Linked DNA regions of Homo sapiens: all the other regions are linked to region 1. The links are contacts of gene promoters, found by promoter capture Hi-C in human tissues and cell types (Jung and others, 2019). All regions are on one chromosome and are shown on one strand. Each heading gives the region's core, a stretch centred on a gene start or on the middle of the fragment in contact. The rest is flanking DNA. Distances are from core to core; before and after follow the strand shown.

Region 1 (5,118 bases), core at 1,255-3,754:
CTGTAATCCCAGGACTTTGGGAGGCGGAAGCAGGAGGATCACTTGAGGTCAGGAGTTCGAGCCCAGCCTGGCCAATATAGCAAAACCCTGTCTCTACCAATAATACAAAAATTAGTATTTTGGTGGGCACCTATAATCCCAACTACTCTGGAAACTGAGGCACTGAGAATCACTTCCACGGAGGCAGAGGTTACAGTGAGCTGAGATAGCGCCACTGCACTCCAGCCTGGGCAGCAGAGCAAGACTCTATCTAAAAAAAAAAATAATAATAATAATAATAATAATAATAAATATATATATACATACACACACACACACACACACACACACATGATAAAGCCAGATGTGGTGGCTCACACCTGTAATACCAGCACTTTGGGAGGCTGAGGTGGGAGGATTGCTTGAGGCCAGGATCTCAAGATGAGCCTGGGCATCCTAGTGAGATCCCATCTCTACAAAAAATTTTAAAATTAGCTGGGTGCGGAGATGCATGCCTGTAGTCCTAGCTAGTTAGGAGGCTGAGAAGAGAGAGTCGCTTCAGCTCAGGAGGTCAAGGTTGCAGTCAGCCATTATAGTGCCACTGCACTCCAGCCTGGGTGACAGAGCGAGACTCTAAATAATAATAATAATAATAGGTCTGCAGTGGGCCTGAGATTCTGCTTTTCTAACAAGCTAACAGGTGATGCCAGGACACTGGTCAGGGCCTCCCACAGTGTGAGTAACAAGGCTGCATGCTTCCCCTCCCAACCGACTCCCACCGAAGTACCTAGGCAAGAGCAAATCCAGGAAAACTCTTCGGAAGGAAAGTTTGTTTCCTTCTAAACTCATATTTTGACTCATCTTCCCACCCCACCTTCCCAGCCCACCTTTTCATATCTAGGTACTCAAGTCCTGTTTTCCCCACTTTTCTAAAATTCTGACGTCAGTAAAGGACCTGATAATCTCTTTCAGAGGGAAGTGTTGCAAGTTATTTACGATTGCAAAAATAATTTCCCAGCCGGGCGCGGTGGCCCAGGCCTGTAATCCCAACACTTTAGGAGGCCGAGGCAGGTGGATAGCTTGAGTCCAGGAGTTCAAGACCAGCCTGGGCAACGTGGTGAAATCCCGTCTCTACAGAAAATACAAAAATTAGCTGGCCGCCTGTAGTCCCAGCTACTCGGGAGGCTGAGGCAGGAGAATCACTTGAACCCAGGAAGCGGAGATTGCGGTGAGCCGAGATCGCGCCACTGCACTCCAGCCTGGGAAAGAGTCAGACCCCGTCTCAATAAAATAAATAACTAAATAATTTCTCAATAAAATAAATAACTACATACATAGGTCTGCCCTAACATGTTCGGAGCTAGGCAAGAGTCAACTGGAGGCCCACAATTCACATATCTAAATATCCAAGTTATCAGTCAACACCAGCTCCAGCAACTTGCTCCCAGGCAAAAGCTCTGGAGAACTGGAGGCTAAAGGAGCCGGCTCTGCTCTGGGAGAGGACGGGATGGTGGTTGTTCTGACCCTGAACCGGGCGTGGGAACTGACCCCATCAAGCTCCTAGCCCTTATTCTTCTGGCTCAGAATATCCAGGCAGTTCTAAGGGTTACCCAAAACTACACAAACAGGGCAGTCAGAGCAGGGGAGAACAGTCAGCTGGGGGGCCGTCTGCGCGCACACCTCTGGGTCATCTGGGCCACCCACGATGCCGCAGAGGAGCCCCTGTCGCTCGCTCCGGCCTCCCTGGCGGAGCCTGGAGCGTCTCCCCTCCGCTTGTACACACACATCCTCCCGCCCCAACTCCGCGTCCTCAGGCGGTCCTCTCCAGGACTTCCCATCCGCCCAGATTCCGGACGATCAAAAACCCCAGGAAGCGGAAAAAGAGCGCGTCGCTGCAGGTGCACCAGCCTCGGTCAGGATCCAGGACAATGAACCGCGTCCTCAGGCCAAAGGAGCGACTCCGTTTCCAGTTTCGGAAGGGGTTTCTCCAGAATACCAAACACCAGTCGGTGCCTTTCTCCTAAAACCAGCACCTCGGGGTGGGGAGCGCGTTCAGAAGTTCACGGTTGACTCAATTACTGGGTTAATTTGATGTATGCTAACTTCTATAGCCCCGAGTACTCGATGTGCCTGTTTTCAATGGCCATTTAAAAAACAGCTGGACCTCTGTATCAATCTAGAGTTAGTCATCCTTCTTGGAAGGGAGCAGAGGGGCCTCTTAAATGTTATTGGAAGACTCATCACTGCATAGAACCGCGTGGCCCTACAATATTTAATTAGGCAAAGACTAAACTGGAATTCATCTAGGCCTCCCCCAACAGCCCAGGCACAGATTCCGGGAACCCCCGCGGACGCCCGCCGGGCCCCTGCTCGCGCCCCCAGCCCAGGGATCCTGGCCCCTCGGAGCGGCGGGGGGGCAGGCCCGGAGCCACAGCCTCACCTCCGGTACTCCAGGTACTCGTCCACCGCCGCCGCGCCGCCGAGAGGCAACGTCAACCGCTCCATTGCCGGTGGGGAAGCCAAAGGCTTCCCTGCGGACCAGCTGACCTCGAAGCCCGACCCGCCCCGTTCCCTCCCGGTACCGCGCCCCCTCCCGCCCGCCTCCTGATTGGCCCGGCCTGAAGCCCGAGGAGGCCGCGCGCGGCAACTGCGCAGGACGCGCGCCCCTACTGGCTGCCGGCGCCAGGCACCAGAACCCGGATCTCCGCAAGCGCAGCCTCGCGCCACATGGAGTGCAGTTTGCCGCCCTCCACAAACCTTGCACCTATTCCCCTCTCCCTTCCCTGGACCGGCGAGTCTTCTTGTAAATTAACAAGTGACAAGGGAGTGCAGTGCCTTGCATATAACAGGCGCATAGAAAATGGCTTATTTCTTTGTACAGCTCTTTTCGCTTAATCCATCTCTTGAAATATAAGTAGTTTTGAGAAGGTTCTGCTTTAGTTTGAGGCCTGCCTCTCCTTAACTGTCGGCCTGTTTCCAGTATTGGCGTTTTCAAAAACTCTGATGTAACAATCAGTAGTCCTGGGTATCTGGGTTCACTTTGGGGGTTGCTAAAGCTACATGTTCTTCAAAGGAACCGAATAACTGATTTAAGGTGAAGCAAGTAAAAACAATTTAGGTGAAGTTTTGTTGTTGTTTTTTAACTTTTGGAAACACTCTGCAAAATATATTTAGAAGCTGAATTACCATGCGATTGGTAATTTGGCCATAATTTGACTTAGCACGTTGTGGAAAAGAATAGGAAATCTTCAGGCGAAGTCATTAAACTCTGAAGCTCCCAGGGGATCAGCTTTAGCGCCCTCTGTAAAGTATCTGGGAGGGAGAATATGCAAACAATAAGAAAAATAATTAAACTTCAGTACAGTACTTTAGTTTCAAAGTACTGTTCTACATATTTCAGGTCCATAAAACATTATGTAAACAAATTGTTTGGGTACCACCCACCTCCCTTCTCGGTACCCTTTCAACAAACCCCACCCTCTCCCCAAAGTCTTCCTCCTGTTCAGAGGCGTTCTTGACAGTCAGATAAATGAGTGATCCTGAAATCGGATTCATATTTTAGGAAACTGATCTCAGCTCAGTATTCTCTCCTATCACACGTGTGGTTTGCTGCTGTCCATTTTACCTCTTCCACCCGACACCTCCCAGATGGGGTCTTGCTCCGTCTCCAAGGCTGGAGTGCAGTGGCGGGATCTCGACTCACTGCAATCTCTGCCTCCTAGGTTCAAGCAATTCTCCTGCCTCAGCCTCCTGAGTAGCTGGGATTACAGGCACTAGCCACCACGCCTGGCTTTTGTGTGTGTGTGTGTGTGTGTATTTTTAGTAGAGACAGGGTTTCACCATGTTGGCCAGGCTGGTCTTGATCTCCTGACCTCGTGATTTGCCCGCCTCAGCCTCCCAAAGTGCTGGGATTACAGGCGTGAGCCACCACGCCCAGCCCCATTCTACCTCTATGAGAGCCTAGTCTTGCTTTTAGGCAGCAACTGAACTAACAAAGAAAAATAGAAGAAAATGCCAGGCTCTGCAGGCTTACAGAAAAGTGGCAGGGGAATGTCTGTGTAGGCAAGTACAATTTAAAAATCTAGAGGGAAATGGTTAAAATAGATTTAGCCCAATTGTGGACTCTTCCAGGAAGATGCTGGAGCAGTAAACTCTTCTGGCCAAAGAAGTCAACAAAAATATTGAGCGTGACGAATAAGAGTATGGAACAAACTAGAAAATGTTATCCTGACCTTACATAAAGCTGACAGATTTGCAAATTAAAATACTGTATATGGTACTCACCTCTGCTTTAATAAAAAGGTATAATCAAACTATAACTTCCTCCCAATGTGTAGCTAAATTGATCTAGGAAGTAGGGTGGACAGAGGAACATGTAAATTGCCTAGGCAAGTGTTAGGCATTTTATTTATTCAATCCTCATGAAAGTTTATGAGATAGGATTTGCCAGCATTTTGCTGTGATGTATAGGTTAAGAATGCTTTCTTCTGAAAATAACAGAATAATTCAACTAACAGTGGCTTAATTAAACATAAATTTTATTTTTTATTGCTTTAAAGAAGAGTGGGGGTAGGTAGTTGCTCACATTGGTTTAGAGCATTTTCCTCATGGTTGCAAGAGCTGTTACAACTCCAGAAATCATACCCAAATTCAAGAAAGGAAAAAGGAGGGCCACCAACATCATTTGTTTCTTTTATCAAAGAGTTTTCCTAGAGGCCTCTGCAAAAAAATTTTCATTTATGTCTCACATGGCCACACCTTGGTATAGAGAAAACTGGGAAAGCCAATCCAGTACTTAGTTTTCCAGGCTCTATGATGGCAATTGTCAAGGAGAGGGTTAGAAATGTGTGTTGGGGCAGGGCACGGTGGCTCATGTCTGTAATCCCAGCACTTTGGGAGGCCAAGGCAGGTGGGTCACCTGAGGTCAGGAGTACATGACCAGCCTGGCCAACATGGTGAAACACCATCTCCACTAAAAATACAAAAATTAGCCAGGTGTGGTGGCTCATGCCTGTAATTCCCGCTACTGGGGTGGCTGAGGCAGGAGAATTGCTTGAACCCAGGAGGCAGAGGTTCCAGTGAGCTGAGATGGCGCCATTGCACTCCAGCCTGGGTGATAAGAGTGAAACTCCATCTCAA
Region 2 (5,118 bases), core at 1,220-3,719, 1.4 Mb before region 1:
TTTGCTAAGCAGAGTCAAAGATCCCTATTAAAAACAATAATGGTGGCCATTTTATAACTATGGTATTTTGTGCTTCAATTGCATGGATACCAGGGGTTTTCTATGCCTGGTCTCATTTAGCACTTAATCCTGTGCATATTGGGGGCGGGGGCAGTAACTGTTGAATGCACTTTATTTAATCAGGAAACAGAAGCTAAGCGATGTTAGATTGCTCATTAGTAAGTTATAGAACTAAGATTCAAAGTCAAGACTCTCCAACGTCAAAACTCTTGCCCTTCCTAATACAGTTCTGCCTCCTAGCCCTTAATTCTCAGTATCTGATGTTACATAATTTCAAACCCTGGTCAGTCATTGTAACTACCCATGGGTCCCCAGAGAGAATGTGGATGTCTCAGAATGGTCCATCACCTTGACTGAACAGTTAAAATGCAGTGACAACATAGGACATGTTTAGAGGCTGATAATAAAATTTAAAAATATTATGCCTTCCATCAACAGATGAATGGATAAAGAAAATGTGGTCTATGTACACAATAGAATACTAGATAGCCTTTAAAAAGGAAATTCTCGCTGGGCACGGTGACTCATGTATGTAATCCCAGCACTTTGGGAGGCCAAGACAGGTGGATCTCCTGAGGTCAGAAGTTCGAGACCAGCCTGCCCAACATGGTGAAACCCCGTCACTACTAAAAATACAAAAATTAGGCTGGGCACAGTGGCTCACACCTGTGATCCTAGCACTTTGGGAGGCTGAGGTGGGCAGATCACGAGATCAGGAGTTCGAGACCAGCCTGGCCAACATAGTGAAACCCTGTCTCTACTAAAAATACAAAACGTTGCCGGGCATGGTGGTGCACACCTGTAGTCCCAGCTACTTGGGAGGCTGAGGCAAGAGAATCGCTTGAACCTGGGAGGCAGAGGTTGTGTGTTGAGCCAAGATCACACCATTGTATTTCAGCCTGGGCAACAGAGCAAGACTCCATCTCAAAAAAAAAAAAAAAAAAAAACTAGCCTGGCTTGATGATGGACACCTGTAATCCCAGCTACTTGGGAGGCTGAGGCAGGAGAATCACTTGAACCTGGGAGGCAGAGGTTGCAGTGAGCTGAGACTGCGCCATTGCACTCCAGCCTGGGCAACCAGTGAAACTCTGTCTCAAGAAAAATATAAATAAATATAATCCCAGCACTTTGGGAGTCCAAGGCAGGTGGAGCAGACGGTCAGAAGTTCAAGACCAGCCTGGCCAACACAGTGAAACCCCATCTCTACTAAAAATACAAAAATTAGCCGGGCATGGTGGCCGTTGCCTGTAATCCCAGCTACTCAGAAGGCTGAGGCAGAAAATTGCTTGAACCTGGGAGGCAGAGGTTGCAGTGAGCCGAGATCACATCCCTGCAATCCAGCCTGGGTGACAGAGCAAGACTCTGTCTCAAAAATAATGATAATAAATAAATGAATTAAATTAAAAATAAAAAGGAAATTCTGCCATTTGTGAGAACATGGATGAACTTGAAGGGCATTATGCTAAGTGAAATAAACCAGGCTCAGAAAGACAAACACTGCATAATGTCACTTGTATGTAGAATCTGAAAAACCCGAACTCATAGAAGGAAAGAGTAGAATGGTGGTCACCAGAGGCTGGCCGGTGGGTGGGACGAGCGTGAAAAAAGGGGAAATGGTCAAAGCATACAAAGTTTTAGTCATTTATTGCACAGCAGGGTGACTATAGTAATGTATATTTCAAAATTGCTATTAGAGTAGATGTTTAAATGTTTTTACCACAAAAATGATAAGCCGTTGATGGATGTGTTAATTACCTTGAATTAATCTTTCTACAGTGTATGCATATATCAAAACAACACATTGAACCCCATAAATATATACAAATATTATGCCTAAGTACTAGTTAGTGACTGAGAACACACAAAGAAGATTGGAAGCTTTAAGTACATTATCTCTCAAAAGAAAAAGAGATTATTGGTACAATCGTTGCTGACTTGCTGATGGGGCAAGGGGCACTACTGACCTCCTCTGGGCTATGCATAGATGAGGAGCAAAAGATGTAGACAAAGAAGTGGAATCGTGGCCTATGCAAATACCCAGCTAGTCCCTCACTGGAGTGACTCCTTGGACTCTTCCAGGTAGGTCTACATGTGCTGTTAGTTCCCAAACCCAGTTAACGTTTGTGTCACTCCTATAGCTGGAACTGCCTTTTTCTCCAGCACGATTTGTTTTAAATATGTTCTAGTCAGGGCTCCTAGCAAAGAAAAGAGATTTCATCAAGATATCTCAGATAAAGGAAAGTTTTGGAGGTTTGGGTTTTTAAAGAATAAGATATACTATCAATAATGAAAAGTCTGAAGGCCAGGCATAGTGGCTCATACCTGTAATGTCAGCACTTTGCGAGGCTGAGGCAGGAGGATCGCTTGAGCCAGGAGTTCAAGAATGCAGTGAGCTATGATTGCACCATTGCACTCCAGCCTGCCTGGGTGACAGAGTGACACCCTGTCTCAAAAATATAATAATAATAATAATAATAATAATAATAATAATAATAATAAAGATTCTGAGGTTTTACTCTACTTGGAAGCTAACAAGTTAGCCTGCCACCATTTTGTGGATGCTGGCAAAAGACACAAGACTCTTGGTCAGAGACAAGGGATAATTTATTAATTGCTAGAATAGCAAAAGCCAGAGTATCATCATTTCTGTGTCAGTTCCTTAACTCCAAGTCCCACAGGGTGACACAAAGATGGCCAGATATTACCTACGCCTGCAGTGGGTTACATTACACAAAGATCCCAGAGCACAGGGAACCTGAATCTTTTATAATGAGCCTAAACCTGAATGACTTTGCCCCCTTGGGAGAAATTATCTTTATTTTCCTAGTCGGTAAACAAAACGTGCCTTTTGCTCTAGAGGAACACACTATCTTTATCTTCCAAGGCTGTTCATTATACAAACATCCTTGAAAAAAATCATCCAGAACTAAGTCTCTATTCTCCAGAACAGTACCTCTGTTCACAAGATGAGTGGATGCATGAGAGACTCATGGAGAACTGTCTCCCAACACACGCAACCCATGGAACGTGTGGAAATTCAAGGACAAGCCTGGGCCTCACAGAGTCAGGAGCTAGAGGATGGCAGGGTTTGGGGATCTTAACTCTAGAGCACTACTATTACTGGGATTCAGCCACAATCCACATGTCTTACTGCCCTGCTACCAACTGGAAAATCCGTTTTTAAATTTCAGTGCAAAATACAATTGACACAGATCCTTTTTTATCCCGGACCTTAAGGCATATATTGCTGATTAATCTGTGTTCTGGCTTTGGTCCGTGTTCATCAATGACTTAGACAGTAGTGGTTGGAAGAGTTCATATGGTCTTAAAAACCTCCAATGTGGGTGTTGATGCCTCTAGGAGGGTTCAAATAATGATCTCTCTTTTCCCCACACAAGTCCTGAATAAAATGAAAAATAAAACAAAGAACAAGTTAGATGGGAAACTAAATACCACCTCATCTACTGATAAAGATGAAGCTGGGAAGCTTAGGGCAAGACCAAGCAAGCCTACTAGCTGGACCCCAGAGTTAGACAGATTTCAGCACCCACTTGCAGGCAGTGCTGGACAGAGGAGTTAGAATGTCTGCTTCCTTGAAATGTTAGCTCCCAAAAGGAAAGAGAGATTCAAACCATATAGGCCTATTTCAATTCTCCCTAAATTTACAGAGGAAGAGGTAAAGGAGTGAGGAGATGCCATGAGTTCTATTAACTGAGCTTCCTCCACATAGATGGACACATTGGGTAGTATTTTTTTTTCTAATAGTAGGAAGCAGTAACCACTGATACTGGAATCATCTTCAATCTCTTACCCACTCCCCCCACCCCCATTGCATGCTAGGCATCCCCTTCATATCGTATATTTCCCATCACAGTCTCTGAGGCCCTGGAGGACAGGGTCAATGTTCTATTTATCTTTGTAAATAGAACAAAGATTTTTTATATCCCTAACAATATACTATTTGGCAGTATGAAACTAGTAAATATTCTATGAATTAATATATATGATCTCCCCAACAATAATTTAAGCTCTGGGATGGCAGAGACTACCTCATTTAATTTCTATTTCTCACACTGCTGTCAATTAATCTTATTTGATTGCCTGAACCAGAGATCTCAGACTCCCTCAAGAAATGGGGGTTTACTGGAAAAAAAACTTACTGTAATGTTGGAAGCTGGAATGGCATAGGCCTATAAAAGTAACTCTATTCACAGTCTGAAGCAGCTTTAGGGACCAGATTAACAGTTTTGCCCCTTCAGCAGTTGTTGGATCTTTCTTTTCTTTTCTTTTCTTTTTTTTTTTTTTTTTTTAAGACAGAGTTTTGCTCTTGCCGCCCACGCTGCAGTGCAATGGCACGATCTTGGCTCACTGCAACCTCCACCTCCCGGGTCCAGGCAATTCTCCTGTCTCAGCCTCCTGAGTAGCTGGGATTACAGGCACCTGCCACCATGCCTGGCTAATTTTTGAATTTTTTAGTAGAGATGGGGTTTTACCATGTTGGCCAGGCTGGTCCTGAACTTCTGACCTCAGGTAATCCACCTGCCTTGGCCTCCCAAAGTGCTTGAATTACAGGCGTGAGCCACTGCGCCCAGCCATTGTTGGATCTTTCATCTAATTTGCTACTGTTAATATGGCTTCTCTTTTTAGTATTTGTTTCTTTTTGATGTCTTCTCTGTGCCTGCTATTGACTAGCTGACCCTGCCCCCATTCAACCACGTAAGTGAGAAAATTCAATTGACTTGATTAACTCTCCTTGACAGGTAGAGCTTTTTAAACCAAGCCACTTCATAAGTTGCTTGGTGCCCATCTTTGTCCTGATAGCCTTCTCTTACTCCAAAAACCACCTAGGGCCCATATCAATTAATTCAGGGCTCTCAGGAAGGTACTTTTCCTAGGAAGCAGTTGGTGGGCCTGACAGACCTTGTGGCTGGAATTTCTAATAAGGGTCTTACACAGGGCTTAAATTAAATGTTTATTTATGTTATCTGAAGAGTGAGTCTGAAGAATTTCATGACTATGTATAATTTATTTAATCCTGTTTAGTAAATTCTAGATATT
Region 3 (5,118 bases), core at 2,163-4,662, 1.0 Mb before region 1:
TGGGTCTCGTGCCTTCCCTCTGGTCACAGTGCCACTTGCCCCGTGATCTCACTGAGGTCTGGGGCATGGCACACCCTCTCCCACCCCCAGGCCTGCTGCGCCTCTCTCTGGGCGTGCTCTCTGCCTCTTTTGCTCCTGCCCAACCATCAGATGGCTTTTCTGGTTCTCCTTCCCTGTGACGGGGTTCAGGACATGCAGTCCTAAGATATTTTAAAGTGAAGGAATTTGAAAAGATGACAGAAGCAGGAAGGTCACTGTGACCTTCCCCTCACCCTTCTCCCTGTAGCAGGTCATAAAACCTCTGAAGGATTTTCCAACCTTCCCCTGATGCAGGTTACAGACCCTCAGGGGAGAGGCGCCGTCCCTCTGCCTGGAGGAAAGGAGCAGCCGTGTCTCCCGACACAGGACACAGAGAGGTGAAGAGACAGGCCTTGCTGAGTTCCTGGATGAATGGCCTTTCCATCATATGCTCTGCCCTGCCACATTTCTCCACCACTGTCCCTCAAACCTAGCAAAAAAGTACTCAAATTTAACTATTTTTTCACATGTTCATTTTCTTATGAAGGCTTCCATGTCATGTAAAACTGCTATTCGGTAAAGTTGCGTGCTTTTCCCTTTTTTTTTTTTTTGAGACTGAGTTTCACTCTTGTTGCCCAGGCTGGAGTACAATGGTGCGATCTTGGCTCACCACAACCTCCGCCTCCCAGGTTCAAACGATTCTCCTGCCTCAGCCTCCTGAGTAACTGGGATTACAGGTGTGCACCACTATGCCCGGCTAATTTTGTATTTTTAGTAAAGACGAGGTTTCTCCATGTTGGTCAGGCTGGTCTCAAACTCCTGACCTCAGGTGATCCGCCCGCCTCGACCTCCCAAAGTGTTAGGATTATAGGTGTGAGCCACCGTGCCTGGCCTCTCTTGTTAATCTGTCTGTTGTGATAGGGGCCTCAGCCATGAACCTAGGATGAGCAGAAGGAAAGATGTTTTTCCTCCCCTCCACCCGCTGGTCACTCTGGCCTCAGCCCTGTTCAACCGCTGTCCCCACTCTTACCACACTCATCGTCAAGGCCTGGTTGTAGTCCTTTGTATCTGTGGCTGTGAGCACGGGGCCTGGTATAGGGAATTTTAAAGATTTACATTGTTGCATATTTGCTGGCTGGCTGGCTGGGGATGGATGGATGAAAAGAATGAAGGAATTAATTGGTGGCGCCCTCAGGGAGCTATGCATGGGTGAAGGTGAGAGTGTGGTGTGTGGTTGGTGCTGTGGATTCTTAAAATGCCAGTTGGTTCCACATTATTTTGGGGACCTGGCAGGGCTTCTGGCAGAATTTGAGGCTGTGTGAATGGTCAAGGCTCCTGTCCTCAGGGAACAAAGTTATGACCTAGGTGCTGGTTCACACTCCTGCACCCCTGTGGCTAAGCGCAAAGTGTGGAGGAGTAGGGTCAGCCTGAATGCTGGTGTGGGCCAGGTGGGTAAAGCCCAGGGATCGTTTCCTTTGTCTTTAGACAGCCATTCTTCTTTTTCTTTTCCATTCTATCTTTATGAGCATCATTAATGCCCACAAGCAAATGAAAATATTTGCTAATACTCATGCCTTCTACATTTCAGCAAATACGGGGCCCTGCCACATTTTTATTCCATAGCCTTTGCTTACGTACACAAGTTAGTAAATAGAATCATAAAGAGAATGCTAATTCTTGAGCTCATTTACTGTTTCTGCTTAGCAAGGACGTAATAACTTACATTTTTATCTACACCTTAGATACCTTAGCTGGGTTCTCAAATATGGAAGTGTTTGAGAAAACATTTCTTTGCCTTTTTTTTTTTTTTTTTTGGAGACAAGGTCTTGCTCTATTGCCCAGGCTGGAGTGCAGTGGTGCGATCTTGGCTCACTGCAACCTCCGCCTCCAGGGCTTAAGGGATCCTCCTACCTTAGCCTCCAGAGCAGCTGGGATTACAGGCATGTGTGACCATGCCCAGCTCATTTTAAATTTTTTTGTAGAGACGGGGTCTCACTATGTTGCTACTCTCAAACTCCTGGGCTCAAGCAATCTGCCTGCCTCAGCCTCCCGAAGTGTTGGCATTACAGGTGTGAGCCACCATGCCCGGCCCTTTTTATTATTTAAAAAACTTTTTATCGCCTGGAGCAGTGGCTCACACCTGTAATCCCAGCACTTTGGGAGGCTGAGGTAGGTGGATCAACTTGAGGTCAGCCTGGCCAACATGGTGAAACCCCATCTTTACTAAAAATACAAAAATTAGCCAGGTGTGGTGGCAGGTGCCTGTAATCCCAGCTACTCGGGAGGGTGAGACAGGAGAATCGCTTCCAGCAAACGGAGGTTGTAGTGAGCTGAGATTACACCACTGCACTCCAGCCTGGACAACAGAGTGACTCTGTCTCAAAAAGAACAAAAACAAAACAACCAAAAACAAACCTTTTTATTATGGACATTTCCCACATGTTAAAAAGTAGAGATAATAATGTAGTGAGCTCCCATGTGCCCACCATCCAGCTTCAGTGACTAGGGCAATTCATGTTTTAGCCATAACTTCACCATCTCCTTCCTCTCCTGCTGGATTATTTTGAAGCAAATCCTAGGCATTATATTGTTTCATCTGTAAATATTTTAGTACCTTGAAATGATAAGGCTTTTGAAAAAAGACTAGCTTTGCCTTTGTAGAAACAGATTCAGAGAGAATGTATTCTTTTGTGTTTGCCATTTTTCACTCAACATGTTTGTGAAATTCATTCATATAACTGCAGACATCAGTATTTTATTTTTTATTGCTGTATATTATTCTATATATTATAGAAACATTGATTTCTTAAAAATATAATCACATAACTACTTGGCCACCTAAATATACTGGCAATACTTTTAAAATATTATCAGTGTTCAGATTTTCCTAGTTGTTTTGTGCATGTCAGGTTTCATTTGTCTGTTTAGAATCAGTTTGTTCAAATCAGGATAAAATAATATTTCCAATGTTTTAAAGATTGTGTCCAGCCTGTTCAGAGAATATATATTAGGGAGCTTTATGTAAGAACAGCCATTTCCTTATTTGTTGGAAGTGGCTGGGCTTTTGGTCAAGCAACATAATGTGTGTAGGGATCGAATTTTATGGGGAAGATGGATGGGTCTTCTGCTCCACTGAGTTACGTCTAAGATGTGCCATCAAGGCTGGGCTGACCCTGTCCAGACTTGTTGGCACACCTTAGACTCAACTTTACCTAACTTGTCCTTTTCTCCTGCACTACAGAGTTCTGCCTTCTCCGAGGGAAGCAAGGTGGCTTCGAGAACAAGAAGAGAATTGACTCTGTCTACCTGGACCCCCTGGTCTTTCGAGAGTTTGCATTCATAGACATGCCAGATGCTGCGCATGGGATATCTTCCCAGGATGGACCATTAAGTGTTTTAAAGCAAGGTATTGCCAGCAGGGCAGGAGTAGTGGGCAGTTGAGGGCCAACTGAGCCCTGTATCCCAAGAGGTGGTGTGGCCTTCAGCATCAGTGACCCCTCAGTGACTCACAGAAAACATATGAGAAGAGAGGTGATGCCGCCGAGGCCCAGTCCACTCGGCAGGACTCACCTCGGTTGGATCTTAGGGAGCCCCAGGTTGTGGGTGCTGTATTTTAGGAAGGGTGGGGAGAATGACGCTCCATGGGGTAGGGGTCGGAGACTGAAGAGTGAGGCAGTCAGGGGCTTGGCATTTTTCTTTCATTGTAAGCACAGAAGCCCTGTTGACTACTAAGAATGGCTCATCAGCCGCGAGGATGGAGAACCCGTTCTGCATCTGTTTTGTTATATTCTGGGCTTCATTGTCAAGACAAGCAATGCTTTGTCAGCCTTGCAAAATGCTCTCTTGGAGGCTCTTTATCCACATGGCATGGACTGCATGGTGCCAAAGAGGAAGAGGGGCCATGCCCAGGATGTGCCTGCAGCAATTCCTTTTGCTCCTCACAGCGTATTGTGCTTTAGAAAGCTGGTTTCTTTTGTCGGGGATGTGGGGGCGCAGCATATAGGAGGAGATGGGCAAGGAAAAGGAGAAACAAATAGGTGAGAGCTTAGCACAAAGAGCTAGGAACCGCTCCGTGTGCGCGCTGGCTTGGAGGGTAAGCACAGAAGCCCTGGTGACTACATCTGTGGAGCTTCGATGAGTCCCAAACCAGGATGCTTTTGTAGCAAAAATGTCCGTATTTGAAGAAATGACAACAAAGGCCCAATTTTAATATAAGGCTTTCCTATCTTGGCTTCCTTGAGATGGATAAGTGGGTGCAATTTTCAGCTGCCACTTGAAGGATTTTGTCATTGTGGGTTAGAACCACAGCAAAATGGCCCTGCAGCCACTGGGTAGCAGAAGGCAGTCCCGTGCTGCAGCTTCCTTCTGTCCTGCCCACAGGCCCACCCTTCGAGTTGGCCATTCTGGTCAGCAGGGGTGCAGTGGGAGCTGGGTGTGCGACTGGACCGACCAGGACAGCTTCTCTCTTCAGGCTGGGACTGGTAAAGACAGTTGTGTGTATAGCAGAGTTTTGAAATATGTTGGTTACTGATGTTCTGTGTTCCTCTGCGTGGGGCTTTATACAACTGCTAGTTGGAATCGTCCATCCTCATGGGTGGTACATTGATGTATTAGTGTGCATCCCTGCATACGAAACCTTTATCAAATCTTTAAAAATAAAATCTCCACTAGACTTAATTTACAAGAAGCTTCTGAGTATCTTAAAAACAAACAAACAAACAAAAAAACCAAAAAACAAAGAAAGGAAAAGAGATTCTAAGGGGAGAGGCCCCTAAGCATCCTGCAGAGGCAATAGCTTCGGGGACTCAGTGCTCAGCTTGAGGACTCATGAAGAAGCAAAGGATAGAGAAAGAATAGCTGTGCTTGCCATGAAAATAGGGTGCCAGCCCCTTTAAAAATGGGCATTAAATATTAAAGGATAGAAAATCTGCAATGTACTACAAGAAAGGACGTGAAAAATAATGTATTTTGGAATTTGTATGGCTCTAAAGCATTGTAAAAGCACTGACTTGTTTAGTAATTCAGCTTTGATAATTTACTTCTAGAGAAGTCATGCTAAAGAAGAATTTAAATAACTTTTCCAGAAAATAATTGATTAGA

Evidence for each region. Contacts are between HindIII fragments. The study calls those that stand out against the background at their distance.
Region 2: a contact is called between a fragment that was not itself captured here and the fragment with the promoter of FAM221A in region 1, in 1 of the 25 tissues and cell types used here (dorsolateral prefrontal cortex).
Region 3: a contact is called between a fragment that was not itself captured here and the fragment with the promoter of FAM221A in region 1, in 1 of the 25 tissues and cell types used here (mesendoderm cells).

Annotation. Positions count from the first base shown.
Region 1 is chr7:23,677,585-23,682,702 of GRCh38, reverse strand. FAM221A (family with sequence similarity 221 member A) reads right to left here and starts at 2,504. Exons shown (of 7, transcript NM_199136.5): 1 at 2,420-2,504. The coding sequence starts at 2,484. RefSeq lists an enhancer at 1,701-1,950 and a silencer at 2,281-2,570. The HindIII fragment of the contact is 14,044 bases long and covers 1-5,118 here.
Region 2 is chr7:25,100,514-25,105,631 of GRCh38, reverse strand. No RefSeq gene overlaps it. Among named protein-coding and RNA genes, the nearest start is that of CYCS, 22 kb to the left of the region's middle. The HindIII fragment of the contact is 6,269 bases long and covers 1-5,118 here.
Region 3 is chr7:24,708,530-24,713,647 of GRCh38, reverse strand. It overlaps GSDME (gasdermin E), which reads left to right. Exons shown (of 10, transcript NM_001127453.2): 6 at 3,260-3,424. Among named protein-coding and RNA genes, the nearest start is that of GSDME, 46 kb to the left of the region's middle. The HindIII fragment of the contact is 5,076 bases long and covers 875-5,118 here.